5 separate regions of the Homo sapiens genome follow, and all the other regions are linked to region 1. The links are contacts of gene promoters, found by promoter capture Hi-C in blood cells and fetal thymus (Javierre and others, 2016). All regions are on one chromosome and are shown on one strand. The core of a region is centred on a gene start or on the middle of the fragment in contact, and the rest is flanking DNA. Distances in the headings are between cores, read along the strand shown. Region 1 holds the start of TEKT2 (tektin 2). Region 2 overlaps AGO4 (argonaute RISC component 4). Region 3 overlaps AGO1 (argonaute RISC component 1). Region 4 overlaps AGO1 (argonaute RISC component 1). Region 5 overlaps AGO3 (argonaute RISC catalytic component 3).

What was found. Contacts are between HindIII fragments. The CHiCAGO score rates a contact against its expected background, and 5 or more counts as called.
Region 2: a fragment that was not itself captured here is called in contact with the fragment with the promoter of TEKT2 in region 1 in 5 of 17 cell types (erythroblasts, megakaryocytes, M2 macrophages and 2 more); the score reaches 10.3 in erythroblasts.
Region 3: a contact is called between a fragment that was not itself captured here and the fragment with the promoter of TEKT2 in region 1, in 3 of 17 cell types (endothelial precursors, megakaryocytes and erythroblasts). The highest score is 6.2, in endothelial precursors.
Region 4: a contact is called between a fragment that was not itself captured here and the fragment with the promoter of TEKT2 in region 1, in 4 of 17 cell types (endothelial precursors, erythroblasts, megakaryocytes and 1 more). The highest score is 6.5, in endothelial precursors.
Region 5: a contact is called between a fragment that was not itself captured here and the fragment with the promoter of TEKT2 in region 1, in 1 of 17 cell types (erythroblasts). The highest score is 5.4, in erythroblasts.

The regions. Positions count from the first base shown.
Region 1 is chr1:36,082,544-36,085,980 of GRCh38, reverse strand. It overlaps TEKT2 (tektin 2), which reads right to left and starts at 1,887. Exons shown (of 10, transcript NM_014466.3): 1 at 1,832-1,887; 2 at 904-1,111; 3 at 693-818; 4 at 1-145. The coding sequence starts at 1,059. RefSeq lists an enhancer at 519-1,317. The HindIII fragment of the contact is 20,325 bases long and covers 1-3,437 here.
Region 2 is chr1:35,846,564-35,850,000 of GRCh38, reverse strand. All of the region lies in intron 15 of AGO4 (argonaute RISC component 4), which reads right to left. Among named protein-coding and RNA genes, the nearest start is that of AGO1, 35 kb to the left of the region's middle. RefSeq lists a silencer at 432-584. The HindIII fragment of the contact is 1,671 bases long and covers 736-2,406 here.
Region 3 is chr1:35,900,029-35,903,465 of GRCh38, reverse strand. AGO1 (argonaute RISC component 1) reads right to left here. Exons shown (of 19, transcript NM_012199.5): 9 at 1,873-1,992; 10 at 1,396-1,518; 11 at 1,129-1,262. Among named protein-coding and RNA genes, the nearest start is that of AGO1, 19 kb to the right of the region's middle. The HindIII fragment of the contact is 8,640 bases long and covers 1-3,437 here.
Region 4 is chr1:35,916,476-35,919,912 of GRCh38, reverse strand. It overlaps AGO1 (argonaute RISC component 1), which reads right to left. Exons shown (of 19, transcript NM_012199.5): 16 at 2,186-2,320; 17 at 1,490-1,591; 18 at 659-858; 19 at 1-414. The coding sequence ends at 306. Among named protein-coding and RNA genes, the nearest start is that of AGO3, 13 kb to the left of the region's middle. The HindIII fragment of the contact is 2,677 bases long and covers 272-2,948 here.
Region 5 is chr1:35,940,262-35,943,698 of GRCh38, reverse strand. All of the region lies in intron 1 of AGO3 (argonaute RISC catalytic component 3), which reads right to left. Among named protein-coding and RNA genes, the nearest start is that of AGO3, 11 kb to the right of the region's middle. The HindIII fragment of the contact is 8,649 bases long and covers 1-3,437 here.

The sequences.
Region 1 (3,437 bases), core at 638-3,137:
CCTCCACCTCTTTATGCAGCTCATCCTCCACAGGGTCCTTCACCACATCAATGTCTCGCCGGCTTTCCCGCAGGGTCAGGCACTCAATGGCCACATCCAGAGGCAGGTTCTTGGCCTGCAGGTTTTGCTCTGCTGACTCCTTCATCTAGAAAAGAGGGCGCGGCCGGGCACGGTGGCTCACATCTGTAATCCCAGCACTTCGGGAGGCCGAGTTGGATGGAACACTTGAGGTCAGGAGTTCGAGAACAGCCTGGCCAAAATGGTGAAACCCCGTCTCTACTAAAAATACAAAAATTAGCTGGGAGTGATGGCGCACGCCTGTAGTCCCAGCTACTTTACTCAGGAGGCTGAGGCAGGAGAATCGCTTGAGCCCAGGAGGCGGAGGTTGCAGTGAGCCACGATCACACCACTGCACTCCAGCCTGGGCAACAGATCCAGATGCTGTCTCAAAAAAAAAAAAAAAAAAAAAAAAAGAAAAGAAAGAAAGAAAAAAAAAGAAAAGAAAAGAGTGGGCGGGGGTGCTGGTGGGGCCATCCATGGGGAAGTAGCGCTTGTCCCCACTTTAGCAGGGGGCCAGTGACTCGGATGGACATGCCACTCATGACCCCCCATCAAGGGCTTCTCAACCTAGCTGTGGGGAAGGAGGGGAGGTTTCGGCAGCAGCCCCCGGGCACCCAGTCCTGGATCCCTGCCTGTGTCAGGGCATCGATCTCGGCATCTAAATCTGTCAGACACTTGTCCAGCATCTCCTTCCACCGGTTGACAGTATCAATCCTCTCCACCAGTCGAGTCCTGTTGTCATGTTCATCCCAAATGGTCTGAGAGAGACAGAGCCAGATAGAGAGGGTGTCAAGGGGTTGGGGGCTATCCCTTTGCCCACCCAGCTGAGTTCCCATCCCCAACCTGGTTGTTGGTCTCGTTGCGGAGCACCCGGGCCTCCTGGCGGATCTGATGGGAAGCATCTCGCTGCAGCTGGGCATTGGTGGATAGCAGGTAGCTGTTAGTGTGCCAGTCGGGCAGCTGGAAGCGCCGACTTGGCTTGACGCTCAGCGTGGCCATGGCACAGAAACCAGAAGGGTCAGAAACCCCTAGGCCTGTTCACAGACACCACCTGCAGAGGGAAAACACTGCTGCGGGAGACCTTTCCGGAGACCTCCTGGATCACACGCCCCCTGCGCAGGACTTGTTCCTGTCCATTTTGCTCTGAGCCCTGTCCTGCTGGAAGCCTGCTTGGAGACAGCCCTTGCTTTACTCAACTTTGTGTGAGGTATTAACTAAGTTTCCCTCCCTCCCGTCCCCAGGCGGACACAAACCCCTGGACCTTGCAGGTCCTGGAGCAGGTAAAAAGGAATAATGGAGTCCCGGAAGCCTCGAAGTGTGTGTGAAGTGCCAAATGCCTGGGGGGTAGGCGGATGGCAGAAAAAAATTGCCCTTAATGCATTTTCCACACCTGCCCCCAGCCAACCATGCCTTGTTGATCTTCCTTTCCTTTCTTCCCCAGGCTGCGGGCCAGTCCCCGTGGGGGATCTAAGGGCAGGAGCCCTGTTCTGTCTCCAGGGACGCGTGCCTGTTGGCACTGGGGAGCTGGGGGGCGGCCCCCGGGGCGGCCCCCTCCCCGTCTGGTAGCCGCCACGCCCTCCCGCCCCTCCGCCCTCGCCTACTGTTGGAGGGGAAGGCCGGACAGGGAGAGCCCCGTGGGAAGAGCTGGGGTCAGTCCGGTTCCCCGTCAAACCCCTTTCTTCCCCTCCGCAGGATGATCGCCTTTGGTTTAGATCAGTACCCCGGTCCAGCGCGGAGGAAGGGGGCGCCCCCGCTTCCCTAGCTCCCTTACCTCCTTTCCCGCTTCGCTCTCCGCGCCCCCCGCTCTGAGCTCCAGTGTTTGGCACCACCGGTTGCTAGGCAACCACCCCTCCCCTACCCCCCCAACCCCCCGCGGCCAACGCGGCCTGGGCGCTTCGCTTGGCAACCGCGGCGGCGTCGGGCGGCGTCCCCGGAGGCCTTTAGGGTAGGCGAGGGGCGGCCGGCCGAGCCTGGGAGAGGTGGGGGGCATCAGGGCAGCGCTTTCACTTGATTTACAAATTAAATGAACATTTGTTGTCTTTTCAGACAGGATCTCGCTCTGTCGCCCAGGCTGGAGTGCTGTGGCTCAGTCTCGGCTCACTGCAGCCTGAACCTCCCCGACTGAAGCGATTCTCCCACTTCAGCCTCCCGAGTTAGCTGGGACCACAGGCGCGTGCCACCACACCTGGCTAAATTAAAAAAAAAATTTTTAGTAGAGACAGGGTTTCACCATTTTGCCCGGGCTGGTCTCAAACTCCTGGCCTCAGGCGATCCACCCATCACAACCTCCCAAAATGCTGGGATTACAGATGTGTCACTGCCCCGGCCTAAACAATTTTATTTTGATAAAGGTATGCATAGACATGATAGAAAATACGAAACCAAGTGCAGTGGCTCACGCTTGTAATCCCAGCTACTCCAGAGACCCAGGCGGGAGGAGCGCTTGAGGCTAGGATTTCGAGGTCAGCCTCAGAAACATAGTAGTTGCCAGCAAACGAACAGTACATAGAAAAAGTAGGCTGGGCGCAGCGACTCAGGCCTGAGATCCCAGCACTCTGGGAGGCCGAGACCAGGTGGATCGCTTGAGTCCAGGAGTTGGAGACCAGCCTGGGCAACATGGCGAAACCCCATCTCTACAAAAAATACAAAATTTGGCCAGGCAAGGTGGCTCACGCCTGTAATACCAACACTTTGGGAGGCTGAGGCAGGTGGATCACCTGAGGTCAAGAGTTGGAGACCAGCCTGGCCAACGTGGTAAAACGCTGTTTCTACTAAAAACACAAAAATTAGCCAGGTGTGGTGGCAGGTGCCTGTAATCCCAGCTACTTGGGAGGCTAAGGCAGGAGAATCACTTGAGCCTGGAGGCAGAGGTTGCAGTGAGCTGAGGTGGTGCCACTGCACTCCAGCCTGGGTGACAGAGTGAGACTCCATCTCAAAAAATAGATTAATTAATTAAAATTAAAATCAGGTGCACTCCCCAGCAGGTCCCCTCCAGCAATGGATGGATAGTTAATGTTGTTTACAACATTTCTTCTATTCTGTCTTGCCCAACAACTTTGCCCATCTTGAAGGTCATACAAGGAATGATAAAGGGATGATAATCATGTTTGGAGAGGGCACAACCCTGAGAGAGGTAACTGGGGTATGAGAAGCAATGCTCTGGTGGCACACGCCTATAATCCCAGCTACTCGGGAGGCTGAGGCAGGAGAATTACTTGACCCTGGGAGGCGGAGGTTGCAGTGAGCTGATAACACGCCTCTGAACTCCAGCCTGGGGAACAGAACGAGACTCTGTCTCAAAAAACAAAATGAAACAAAACAAAACACAAAAAAACCAGAGAAGCAATGCTCAATATTCAACCATTTCTTTAAAAAAA
Region 2 (3,437 bases), core at 322-2,821, 240 kb after region 1:
CTTAGCCCAACCATTTTAACCTATAGTATTTTCACAAACAAATATGTTCCAGGATCTCTTCAGGAGGATACGGACAAAAATATTTTACCCGTGGCTTTGGGCTACAACATTATTATGTATTTACAGATGACACAGTGGTATGTTCACAAAGGGAAAAAACATTTAACATTTAAGATAGATAAACTTTCTGAGAAAAAAAGTTTTATTCCTTACTTGGAGTAAAAAAAATTCACAATTTTCAGTAAAAGATTAAGGAATCTTTAAACTGGTTTACCAGGTTCAACATAACTAGTACTTTTTTTTTTTTTTTTTTTGAGACAGCGTCTCACTCTGTCACCCAGGCTGGAGTGCACTGGGAGGATCACAGCTCACTGCAACCTTGGACTCCTGGACTCAAGGAATCCTTTCACCTCAGCCTCCTGAGTAGCGGGGGCTATAGGCACACATGCCATCATGTCTGGCTTTTTTTTTTTTTTTTTTTTGAGACACGGGGTCTAATTTTGTTGCCCAGGCTGGACTCAAACTCCTGGGCTCAAGCAATTCTCCCACCTTGGCCTCCCAAAGTGCTAGGACTACAGGTGCGAGCTACCACATCTGGCAATAACAAATACTTTATTAATAATAAAAAAAAAGTCACTGGCAAATGGTTATCAGGAAGAAAGCACTGAAATGGGAACTAAAAAATCAGTTTCAGATCTAGGCCTAGCCTTGCAACTATATACCTTGAACAAAGCTTATTATCTTTATACCTCAATCTAATCATCTATAAAATTAGGTGATGTTCTCTTACCCTTTTAAAATTCCAAGCAAAAACTCTACAGACAAAATTTGAAAATCAAATTTCTAGGAAGGCAAGAGGGGAACTTCAGAAATGGATTACAAGGGAAGGAATTACATCTTGCTATTTGGTCACCCTCTTCTGCTGTACAGCAGAGTTCAGTATGAACACATTTCTTTAGCATACAGGCACAAATTTGATGGGAGTTTATTTGGCTCCATTTTAACTATTGTTACCTTAAGCTGAAGATCATACACCTATGCATACATAACTCTATGAGTATAGAAAAATCTCCTTCCATCAAATGCATATGTGATCTTGGGTTCCTAGCTGGATCAGAAGAAATCTAGTTGGTTCTAGCATTTTTTTTTCCCCAAAGTGTGTTCTTTAGGAATATTAGCTTTGCAGGATGTGTTTAGGTATTTTATGGTGAAACAAACCTGAGAAATATGGGATCAAATTAAAGTTAAAAGTATTTTTCTACTGTATGACTCAAAACCTTTATTTAGTCATGTATAATCTTTAAAAGGGATATAAAGTATATAGCATTTTCTAAATTTATTTTACCCTTAAAAAAAAAAAAAACTCTCTGGTTCTACATATGACAGCCTGAAGAGGTGATGCCTTGGAGAAAAGGGAATCCAGGCCTTTTCAATTCACCAGTTATTGCTTGAGCACCCATATGACTGCTAGGCTCCGCAGCAGATGTTGGGGATGACAGCCAGGGGCATCAAGAGAACTAATAAACTTGCCTTCCTGACTTCATGAAAAGTGTATACAATAAACTGTAACACAATGTCATAAGGGCATATGGGAAGCATTGGGAAAAGCTGATGAGGAGGAAATAGGTGAGCCATGCCTTATAAGTAGGAGCTGAAAAGGGAAGTTGGGTAAAAAACAGGAAACACTCCAAATACCCCTAAACTCAGAAATGGATAAGCAAACTGTGGCTCATCCACATTATGAAATACCACTCACAATAAAAAGGGGCAAATTACTGATATATACACAACTTGGATGAATCTCAAATGCCAGACTCAAGGGCTATGATTCTATTTATATGATGTGCTGGAAAAAGCAAAACTGTAGGAACAGAATACATATCAGTGGTTGCCAAGGGCTGGGAGTGAAGGAGAAAGGTTAACTACAAAAGGACACCTGAAGATTTTTTGGTATGACAGAATTATTATACAGTCAGCCCTTGGTATCCACAGGTTCTGCATTCAGGAATTCAACCAACTGTGGATATTCTTTAAAAAGGTTTGGATATTCTAATTATACCCTGATTTGATCACTGCACATTATTTGTATAAGAATTCCTATGTAACCCATAAATGTGTATAATTATTATGTCAATTAAAAATAAATAAAAATATAAATTTTAAAGACCTGACACAAATACAGAAAATTGTTAACATGTTTAAAAATTTAATTTTAATATGAAAAAAATTAAAAACAATAAAACATAGCATTTACACTGTATTCGGTACTAAAGCAACCTAGAAAAATATTTAAAATAATTCAACAGTAAAAACTTATACACATTTTAAAATATAGTATAACAACTATTTAAGCCTTTACATTGTATTAGGTATTATAAGTAATCTAGAGATCTTTTAAAGCAAGCTTGTCCAACATGCAGCCCAGGATGGCTTTGAATGTGGCCCAGTACACATTTGTAAACTTGGGCCGGGAGCAGTGGCTTTCATGCCTGTAATCCCAGCACTTTGGGAGGCCAAGGCAGGCAGATTACTTGAGCTCAGGAGTTCAAGACCAGCCTGGCCAACATGGTGAAACTCCATCTCTACTAAAAATCCAAAAATTAGCTGGGCATGGTGGCATGTGCCTGTAATCCCAGCTACTCGGGAGGCTGAGGCAGGAGAATCACTTGAACCCAGGAGGCAGAGGTTGCAGTGAGCCGAGACTGAGCCATTGCACTCCAGCCTGGGTAACAGAGCGAGACTCAGTCTCAAAAAAAAAAAAAAGACCAAAAACAAATTTGTAGACTTTCTTAAAACATTATGAGATTTGTTTGTGATTTTTTTTTTTAGCCCATCAGCTATGGTTAGTGTATTTTATGTGTGGCCCAAGAAAATTCTTCTTCCAATGTGGTCCAAGGAAGCCAAAAGATTGGACACCCCTGTTTTAAAACATATGGGAGGATGTGCATAGGTTATATACAATTACTATACCATTTTTGTTTTTTGAGATGGAGTCTTGCTATGTTGCCCAGGCTTGTCTCAAACTCCTGGACTCAAGTGATCCTACTGTCTCAGCTTCCTAAGTAGCTGGGACTACAGGTATGCACCACCACGCCTTGCTTACTGTACCATTTTATATCAGGGACTTGAGCATATGTGGATTTTGGTATCTGCAGCAGGTCCTGGAACCAATCCCCCATGGATTCTGAGGGATGACTGTGTATTTTTATTGTGGTGATGCCTACAGAACTGTATGTATTTGTCAAAACTAGGGCCAGGTATGGTGGCTTATGCCTGTAATGCCAACACTTTGGGAGGCTGAGGTGGGAGGACCACTTGAGTCCAGGAGCTGAAGACCAAACTGGGGAACAAACTTAGACCCTGTCCCTAAATATATATATATATATATATATATATCTTTTTTTGAGATGGAGTCTCACTCTGTCTCCCAGGCTGGA
Region 3 (3,437 bases), core at 366-2,865, 180 kb after region 1:
CCCTAGAGTGCATTGACCCCACTCCAGATTCAGAGAATATGAAAAGCAACCACTTCGAAAGATGGCAGTAACCAACTAACTGTATGTTGTATCTATGAAACAACTAACTGAGTTTTGTGGCATTTTAAACCTATCTCAATAAAACTTAAAAAAAAAAAAAGGCCGGGCACAGTGGCTCATGCCTATAATCCCAGCACTTTGGGAGACCGAAGCAGGAGGATCACGAGGTCAGGAAATCGAGATCATCCTGGCTAACACACTGAAACCCCATCTCTACTAAAAATACAAAAAATTAGCTGGGCGTGGTGGCGGGCGCCTGTGGTCCCAGCTACTCGGGAGGCTGAGGCAGGAGAATGGCGTGAAACCCGGGAGGTGGAGCTTGCAGTGAGCCAAGATCGTGCCACTGCACTCCAGCATGGGTGACAGAGCAAGACTCTGTCTTAAAAAAAAAAAAAAAAAAAAAAAAGACTCCAGGTGAGGGGTTGTTGACTTCTTAAGCCATTACTGCCTGGTTTCTTTAAACCATTTGGCTATAACACTTTCCTCATTGGTGCCATCTACTCCCAGCTACGGTGGCACAGAGGCCCTGACAACCAGCTAAACAAGCTGCTCTATTTTGTTTCCAATTAGGAACACAAGTCTTGAAGCTCAGATCTGATTTGCTTCCAACTCTGACACTTTCCTGATGATGTGCAAACTTTGGACAAGTTACTTAACCTCTTTTGAGCCTCAGTCTCCTGAAAATGGACATATCACCACCTACTCACTGTAAAGATGAAATAAGAGAATATAAATTAGGTACTTAAGTATAATTTTGGCGTAAACATTACAGTCATCACTACTACTATTTATTACCAATGATAATAATTATAACAATAATTCAGGCCTCTCTCAGGAGATTCATGCCCTAAAATCATCATCTTTGACATAGATATGGCTCCTTATTAACTTCCCCTGATCACAGATGGATAGAAAAAGAATTGGTAGAAGTTTGAGCCAGAAAGCACAATGCAGGCAGAGTCAAGACAGAACACATTACTGATCAATATCAGCCCCTGTGGACTACAGGAAGGCAGGCAGCTCCAGGGTCCTTCCCACCCTTCCACCCCTACAGCGAACCCTCCTTACTTGAGCACCTCTTCTCGACACTGTTTTTGGGGTGCGAAGCAGGCGATGGCCCAGACTTTGATCTCAATCCCATTGTAGAACTGTTTCCCCCGCATGTCCCAGACACCCTGATTGGGTGTGGCAATGGCCCGGTTCTGGGGATAGGTAGAGGGGGCGCCTAGGTGAGCCTCAGTAGAGTCAGGTGGGTAGGGGAGCAAAAGCCCCTGGCTATACAACCCAACCACCCCCATATGCCCCGAGATGTTGTCTGGCCCTGACCCTGCTCACCCGGCCGCCGTACTGCAAGATGGGCGCCGGCAGCACTCGCCCTGTCACCTCCGTCATGTCATCCTTCACTTTGATCCCAAATTCCTGGATGTAGGGATCTAAGTTGTAGCTGGCATTCTTCATCTGCAGGACAAAAGAGAGCAATCTCAGGAGAACAGGAGCTTGGCAATACTGCTCACCCTCTGGGTATCAAGGAGAGAACCCTAAGGAGAAGCTGGGGTTGGTACGGAATAGTCCTAAAAAGAGAGAGAAAGTGGAAGATGAGGGAAGTGAGGGAATAACACAGCAAAGTAATACAGGAGAGAAAAAGAGACAGAAAGCAAAGTAGCTATACGGTCAAGAAGCAAAAGCAGCCTTATACAGTCCTAGGCAACAAATCTAGACTTGGGTTCTCCTGAAGGAAGGTCCTGCTGGGGCATTAAAACATTTATGCTACCAATGGCCCCAATGACTGAGCAAATGAGTAGGCCCACTGACCAGGCGACTGATCTCCTCCTGTCTGTCTGGAGCGGATCTAGCTGTGGCCTTTATCATGGTCGAGGTCTGGTTGTCGGTCAGCTTTTTAATACAGCGCTGCCCAGCCACAATGTTACAGACCTGAGGAAACAAGAAGGACAGGTAGCTCTGGCTTGAGTACAGTCCACCCTGTACCCAGAGCCCCACAATAAGGAAAGATACCTTGGCTGTCAGCCATGGGGAAGGGAACTGCAAAATCCGTTGTGCATACATGTATTCTCCTCCTGAGTATCATTTGATAGGTAAATTAGAAAATATTCGTGTGCATTGTAAAAGGCGATTCAGGCCGGGCATGGTGGCTCATGCCTGCAATCCCAGCACCTTAGGAGGCCAAGGCGGCCAGATCACTTGAGGTCAGGAGTTCAAGACCAGCCTGGCCAACCCAGTCTCTACTAAAAATACAAAAATTAGCCAGGCATGGTGGCGTGCGCCTGTAATCCCAGCTACTCAGGAGGCTGAGGAACAAGAATCGCTTGAACCGGGAGGCGGAGGTTGCAGTGAGCCCAGATCACGCCACTGAACGCCAGCCTGGGTGACAGAGTGAGACCCTGTCTCAAAAAAAAAAAAAAAAGGGCAATTCAACCGCTTGTGATCCAGAGCCAGATCTGGGCTCAGGTCTCATATTTTATTTATTTATTTATTTTTTTGAGATAGAGTCTCGCTCTGTTACCCAGGCTGGAGTGCAGTGGCACAATCTCGGCTCAGAGACATCTGCCTCCCGGGTTTAAGCAATTCTCCTGCCTTAGCCTCCCAAGTAGCTGGGATTACAGGCACCCGCCACCATGCCTCGCTAATTTTTGTACTTATGTATTTATTTGTTTATTTTTGAGAGGGAGTTTTGCTCTTCTTGCCCAGGCTGAAGTGCAATGGCACGATCTCGGCTTACTGCAACCTTCACCTCCCAGGTTCAAGCGATTCTCCTGCCTCAGCGTTCCAAGTAGCTGGGATTACAGTCATGTGCTACCATGCCCGGCTAATTTTGTATTTTTAATAGAGATGGGGTTTTGCCATGTTGGCCAGGCTGGTCTTGAACTCCTGACCTCAGGTGATCCACCCACCTCCGCCTCCCAAAGTGCTGGGATTACAGGAGTGAGCCACCATGCCTGACCTTCATATTTTAAGGAAGGATAATAGTAACAATCTAAGAGTTGCCTCAAGATTAAATAAAGCACTTAAAGGACTGAGTATAGTTCTGGAACACAGTAAACAATAAATTGTAGCACAGATTATTATTTACCAAAGGACCATATATAGAGCTCTTCTGAATACTGAACAACTCAATATACACAAATTAGATTTCTAAGGCAGCTGTCCAATGGTGACAGGTTGCTCCATCCTGCAACCCACCAGGACTAGGGTTGGTTCTAAACTCCTGAGCCCCCAGCCTACAGCTATCACTGTCTCTGTTGGCTGACAGTGTCCTCTGCTGGTGTGAGAAACATCCTGCCATTTACTTCATCTGTTCTGGGCCCAACAGAAAACAACAGAGATCATAAAAAGCTGTCTAGTGACATACAAGACTTCCA
Region 4 (3,437 bases), core at 361-2,860, 170 kb after region 1:
ATGAGACACCTGTGTGTATGGTGGGCACCAGTGCTGCCCCTTTTGGTCCAGTGGGGTCAGGGCCAGATGTGACAAGATGGGGTGAGGGGTGGGGGACATGAGGTTGATATCAGAGATTTCTGGCTGGTGGTCTGTCTTGCTGGCCCTGTTCCCCACTCTTACACCACCTCTATAGAAGGAAACAAGGCATCCTACACTCCTCCCTACCCCACCTCCCTCCTCCTTGCTTCCTCTGGATTTGGGTGGCACAGCTCCTGGGGCTTGGAAAGCTTTCTTCTATCCAGTGAGGTAACAGCGTTCTGCCTTCAAGCGAAGTACATGGTGCGCAGAGTATCCTGGTGAACCTGCACGGCTTTGGCCAGGGCCTGGGGGTCCCGCCCATTGCTCTGCCCCGATATGTGGCTCCCCTCTCCACTGAAAAGGAAAAAATGAAAGAAGTCCTTCCTGGTGAACTGAGAGCTGCTGCTAATTCCCTCGCCCAGCCCTGGGATGCCAATTCCCATACCAACTTAAGAGAGAAACCCAACCCAGGATTGGGCAGACGAGCCCAATGACACCAAATTGGACAGCACTCATTTCCTTCTACCCAAGGAAAGTTAAGAAGATCTGGCACAATAGGCTGAAGCAAAAAGGAGGCCAACCTGATCCCAGGCCTCACCTGTCATGCTCCTTGTCCACCAGGTGGTATCGTGCCCGGAAAGCCACCAGGCGGGCATAGTAGGCAGGTGCTGGGATAGAGACAGAGCGTGTGCATCGTACGTAAGTGTGGCACAGCTGGTACGTCAGGATCTGGAGCTCATCTGCTGTGAAACGGTTGTCATCCCAAAGAACATAGTAATGGGATGGTCGGCTGGTGCCCTGGGAAGATAGGAAGGTGAGGGGTCCCAGGCTGGGCAGAGAAGATGGCTGATAATAGGGGAACAGGATCACTGTTAAGAATATGGCTGGGTAGATAATTCACCCATGAACAGGCAGATGCAAAACTACCAATGTCATAAAGCACTCTTCTTATAAGCAACCTGCAAGTGTACTCAGGGCTTATTACGACAGCAGTCCTGGCCGGGCACAGTGGCTCATGCCTGTAATCCCAGCACTTTGGGAGGCCAAGGTGGGTGGATCACTTGAGGTCAGGAGTTCAAGAACAGCAGGGCCAAAATGGTGAAACCCTGTCTCTACTAAAAATACAAAAATTAGCTGGGCATGGTGGCGCATGCTTGTAATCCCAGCTACTTGGGAGGCTGAGGCGGGAAGGCAGGAAGACTGCTTAAACCCAGAAGGTGGAGGTTGCAGTTAGCTGAAATTGTGCCACTGCACTCCAGCCTGGGGGACAGAGTGAGACTCCGCCTCAAAACAAAACAAAACAGAACAAACAGAAAAGAGAGCAATCCTAATTTGGATGTCATTCAGTGATGACTGATACATTCTAGAGGCAATATGAATGAACAACTCATCTTTGACCCATTGGAACCACAAGATAAAGCCCAGCTACCTGGATGCCTGCGTGGCTGCACAGATAGAAGTCAAACTCAAATGGGTGGGTGATGTTGGTGTCCACTGTGGTCCCAGCTGGGATGTTACCACTCTTCCCAATCTGTATAGAGACAAACACAACCAAGATCCCAAGACCTGCCTGGCCCTAACCAGGACCCTGGCTCAATTCTACTCTGATTTCACCAAAATCCCAAGAACAAAGCCAAAGTTGCTATTCCCTGAGGGTACTGAATCTTAAAATAATATGCTTCTAAAGTCACACAGACCTGTGTTCAAGTCCTATTAGCTGTGTGATCTTAGCAAGTCGTTTAACCTTTCTGAGGTTAAATTGGAGATAATAATAATACGTACCTCACAGGGTTGCTGTGAGGAAGACGCCTTGTACAGTATCTGGCACATAGGAGGAGTTCAATAAATGGTAGTTCCCTTCCCCTTCTCTAGGAGCTGGTCTATATATGGGGTCTAGGCCAGGGAGCTAGGAGGAGGGAAAGGAAGTATAAGGGAAGGACGGGAGGAGGTGGACACTAGTGAAGGCGGTGGCAGAGGAAGGACCACAAGAGCTAGGAGGAGGGAAGGGGCCAGGGAGGATAGATAGGACAAGGACTAAATCCCCAGCCTTTATCTCAAGGGCTTCTTCTCTATTAAGATAAGGGAGACAGAAGGAGGGGATGGGAGGCCTCAGTCCCTCACTCACTCGCTCATTCTTGTCAGCACAGAAAAGGCGGGTGTGATGGCGTTTCTGCACCACAATATAAGTGATCCCAGGCTGGTAGTCCTTTTCCAGTTTGATGCAGGCATCACGAATGGCCAGTAGCTCATAGTGGAGTATCTAGGCACAAAAAAATGGGGAGGGAAACAAAGAAATACACAGTTCCTCTTGAGTTCACATACCCTTCTGAACTAAGGAGTTGCCACTTGTAATATAACTTTTGGCTCAGTCTCCCTTTATATGCTGATGCTCAACAATTAGAGATGACAGGCCCTTCTTGTCAAAAGCAGCCTTATGCTCAGTTCACTTAATATGCTCCTATAAAACCTTGGCCAGGAGGCTTGGCATCAGAAGACAACACTCATCTGGTTCCTGTGTATAAAGAGACCTAATACCAAGACACAGAACCAAGGTTCACAGAGAAATCACTAAAATCACAATGCCCAAAGTTAGTTTCACACAGGATCAGGTGACTAATGAGAGTTCTCCTTTGGGCTCCAAGAGCAGACAGGTTGTGGACCACCAGAGAAGAGCAGACATATAGTTCCATAATGGGTGCAGAGAGAGTAGGTGAATTCAGTCCTGCAAAGCAGCAGGATTATAAGAAAACAGGCTAGCTAAGGGAAAAGCTAGAAGTAAATAATCATAGGCAATAGTTGCCTGTGGCCGTGGATGTCAGATACAGAGGGTCAAAACTGTATGGTAGAGAAGGATAGACTTTGGAATCAATTAGATTTAAATCCAAGCTTTATCTAGTTGTATTACATCAGGCAAGTTATTCAACTCCACTAAGTCTCATTTTCTCCACGTCTGTTAATGTTACTAAGACCTGCTTCACAAAGCTATTAAGAAGACTACGATAGACAATTAAGTAAAAGCATAGAAAACCTAGTAGGGCTTAATAACTACTGATTGCTTTGCTAAGCAGTTTGAATTTTAACTCAAAGCTATGTGAAGCCACTAGACATTTCTGAACAGATATGTGATATGATAAATGTGTCTGTTATTTTAGAAAATACTGGATGACTTAGAAATTGGGCATAATGGCCGGGCACGGTGGCTCACGCCTGTATTTCCAGCACTTTGGGAGGCCAAGGCGGGTGGATCATTTGAGGTCAGGAGTTTGAGACCAGCCTGGCCGACATAGTGAAACCCCATCTCTACTAAAAATACAAAAATAAGCTGGGTGTGGTGACTCATACCTATAGCCCCAGCTACTTGGGAGGCTGAGGAAAGA
Region 5 (3,437 bases), core at 397-2,896, 140 kb after region 1:
CCCGGAGGTGGAGGTTACAGTGAGCCGAGATCATGCCACTGCACTCCAGCCTGGGTGATAGCGCGAGACCCTTTTACTTAAAAAAAAAAAAAAAAAAGGGCTGGGGGTGGTGGCTCACACCTGTAATCCTAGCACTTTGGGAGGCCAAGGCAGGTGGATCACCTGAGGTTGGGAGTTCAAGACCAGCCTGGCCAACATGGTGAAACCCTGTCTCTACTAAAATTCAAAAATTAGCCAGGCATGATGGCAGGCACCTGTAATCCCAGATACCTGGGAGGCTGGGATGACAGAACTGCTTGAACCTGGGAGACAGTAGCTGCAGTGAGCCGAGATTGTGCCACTGCACTCCAGCCTGGGCAGCTAAGTGAGATTCTGTCCCAAAAAAAAAAAAAAAAAAGATGGGCATGGCACGCCTGTAATCCCAACACTCTGGGAAGCCAAGGCGGGAGGATCATTTGAGGTCAGGAGTTCGAGAATAGCCTGGCCAACATGGTGAAACATCATCTCCACCAAAAAAATACAAAAAAATTACCTGGGTGTGGTTGTGTGCACCTGTAGCCACCAGCTACTTGGGAGGCTGAGGCAGGAGAATCACTTGAACCTGGGAGGTGGAGGCTGCAGTGAGCTGAGATCATGCCACTGCACTCCCGCCTGGGTGACAGAGCGAGACTCCGTCTCAAAAAAAAAAACAAAACCAGTCACAGAATGACAAACACTATATAATTTATATGATTCCACTTACATGAGGTACCTAGAGTAGTCAATTTCATAAGAAACAGGAAGTAGACGTGTGGTCACCGGGAGTTGAGATATGAGCAAATGCAGATTTGTTAAATGGATATAGTTTCAGTTATAGAAAATGAAAAGAGTTGTGCAGATTGGCTGCACAACACTGTGAATGTACCGAACACTACTGACTATACACAAAAATGGTTAAGATGGTAAATTTAATGGTTGTATATTTTACATTTTTTAATCAAAAAAATTTAAAGAAAACCTGTGATGTCCAGCACTAAATTTTTGAAGCTCAAAATACAGCTTTGTTAATCAAAATTCAAACAATAAATTAATAAACTATTATCTGAATAAACTAAAAATTACATTAAAAAAATCTTAAAAGTCCTCCAAATAAATTAAATCCACAATTTAAAATACTTCCACATACATACAAAAAGATTCCAGATCCAGATGGCTTCACTAGAGAATTATACCAAACATTTAAGGAAAAAAATAACACCGATGTTATACAAACACTTCCAGAGAACAGAAAAGAAGTAAACACACCCCAATACAATTTATGATGCCAGAAAAATTCTGGTACTAAAACCTGACAAAAACACTATAAAAAAGGAAAATCATAAGCTAATCTAATTCACGAATATACATGCAAAAATCCTAACAAAATGTTAAATTAAATCCAACAATATATCAAAAGAATGAGTTTGTATCAGGAATAAAAAATTGGGCTAACAATAACTTTTATTCAGTGTAGATGAAAAGAGACTAAAATGCTGCCTGAATCATTTGTTTTTAAATTCCGCTTTGTGTTTTTTTAAAAATCTCTTCAGAGGGCATAATCTTTCCTATCCTAGCCTGAGATAAGTAATACTGTACAAATTCCGTACTAGCCCTTAGTACTGGCTCTGCCAATTATCTAATCATTTGACTGTCACCAAATACTGTCCCTGAATTTGTTTCCTGATCTAAAAAATGAAAATAATACTTGATCTGCCTCTTTCTTATGAAACTTGTCAAGATCAACTTAGAAAATCCACAAATTCTAAAATTTATCAAGTTCTGACTATGTCTCAGGCAATGTGCTAAGTGCTTTTATTTTACACCATGCAGGGCTAAGTTTTTGTATTTCTGGTAGAGACAGGGTTTCACCATGTTGCCCAGGCTCGTCCTGAACTCCTGAGAACAACTGATCTGCCCACCTTGGCCTCCCAAAATACTGGGATTACAGGTGTGAGCCACCAAGCCTGGCCTGCTAGGTGCTTTTACATGCATTATCTCATTTAATCTTCATACCAACCCTATAAAGGAAGGAATCATTTTACAGATGAGGAAAACTGAAATAATTTGCCTAAAATTTTTATAGCTAGTAAGTAGGAGAATTGGGATGGTAACCTGCCATGCTGGACTCTCTGTTCTGTTCCATTAGTTGTTTCTTTCACCAATACCACATTATCTTGATTACAGTAGCTTTATTGTGAGTCTTGAAGTTAGTTAGATAGTGTCAGCCCTCTGAGTTCTGAGTGAAAAAGTGTTATGATCTGACTTAAATTTTTTTTTAAGTATCACTCCAGCTGCTGTATGAAAAATTATACATAAGGGTACAAGCAGGGAGACCAGTCAGCAGACTATGTGGCTGTCTAGGTGAAAGATAATGTTGGCTAGAACTACAGTAGTACAGTTAGGGGAGTGATGTGGATGTGGAAAACATTTAGAAGGTAGGCCTGACAGGAATTGTTAAATGGACTAGATGTGGGGTATGAGGAGAAACATTCTCAAGGTTTTTTGGTCTGTACAACTGAAAGAACAGAAGTGTCATTTACTGAGATAGGAAAGACTCAGTGATAGTAGCAAGTTTGGAGGGGAAATCAAGAGGATTTTAAGGATATGCTAAATTTGAGGTGTCTACAAGTAGATGAATAGTAAGCAGTTAGATGAGTGTGGAGTTCAGAGGAGAGGTCCAGGCTGGAGGTGTAAATGTGGGTGTCCTCAGCATAGAAGTGTTATTTAAAACCACTGGATTAGAGATCAGACAGACTGTGGCATGGATACAGAATACTAACCCCAAGGATACTCCCAATATTTAGAAATTAGGGAAATGAAAACAGCAAAGGAACTGGAAAAGTAACAGCCAACAAGGTTGGAGGAGGACCTGGAGAGAGTGGTACCCTGAAAACCAAATGGAGAAAAACAGTGTTTCAAGAAGAAAATGTCATTAGATGTGGATGAAATAAAATGAAGATCTGGGAACTATTGGGTTTAGCTAAGTCTTTGCTGACCTTGATAAAAACAATTCCAGTCAAGTGCTAGGGACAAAAACCCAACTGTAGTAAGTTCAAAAAGAATGGCCTGAATTTGATCAAGCCCTTGGATCCACTAGCAGTTTACAGGAAATTCAAAGGATTATGTTAAATTAAATTGTAAAGATGGAACCAGCAAAATCCAGATCGTGAAAAATTCTAAAAGGACAAACAGCCCATAAATTGCAGAGGAGAAAAACAAGGAGAGAAAACTTACCGATTAAGACACTTAAAAGACATATCGATCAATCACAATGTGTAGAACTTATTTGGATTTTGAATCAAAAATTTTTTTTAGGCTGGGCGTGGTGGCTCATGCCTGTAATCCCAGCACTCTGGGAGGCTGACGCGGGCGGATCACCTGAGGTCAGGAGTTCAAGACCAGCCTGGCCAACATGGTGA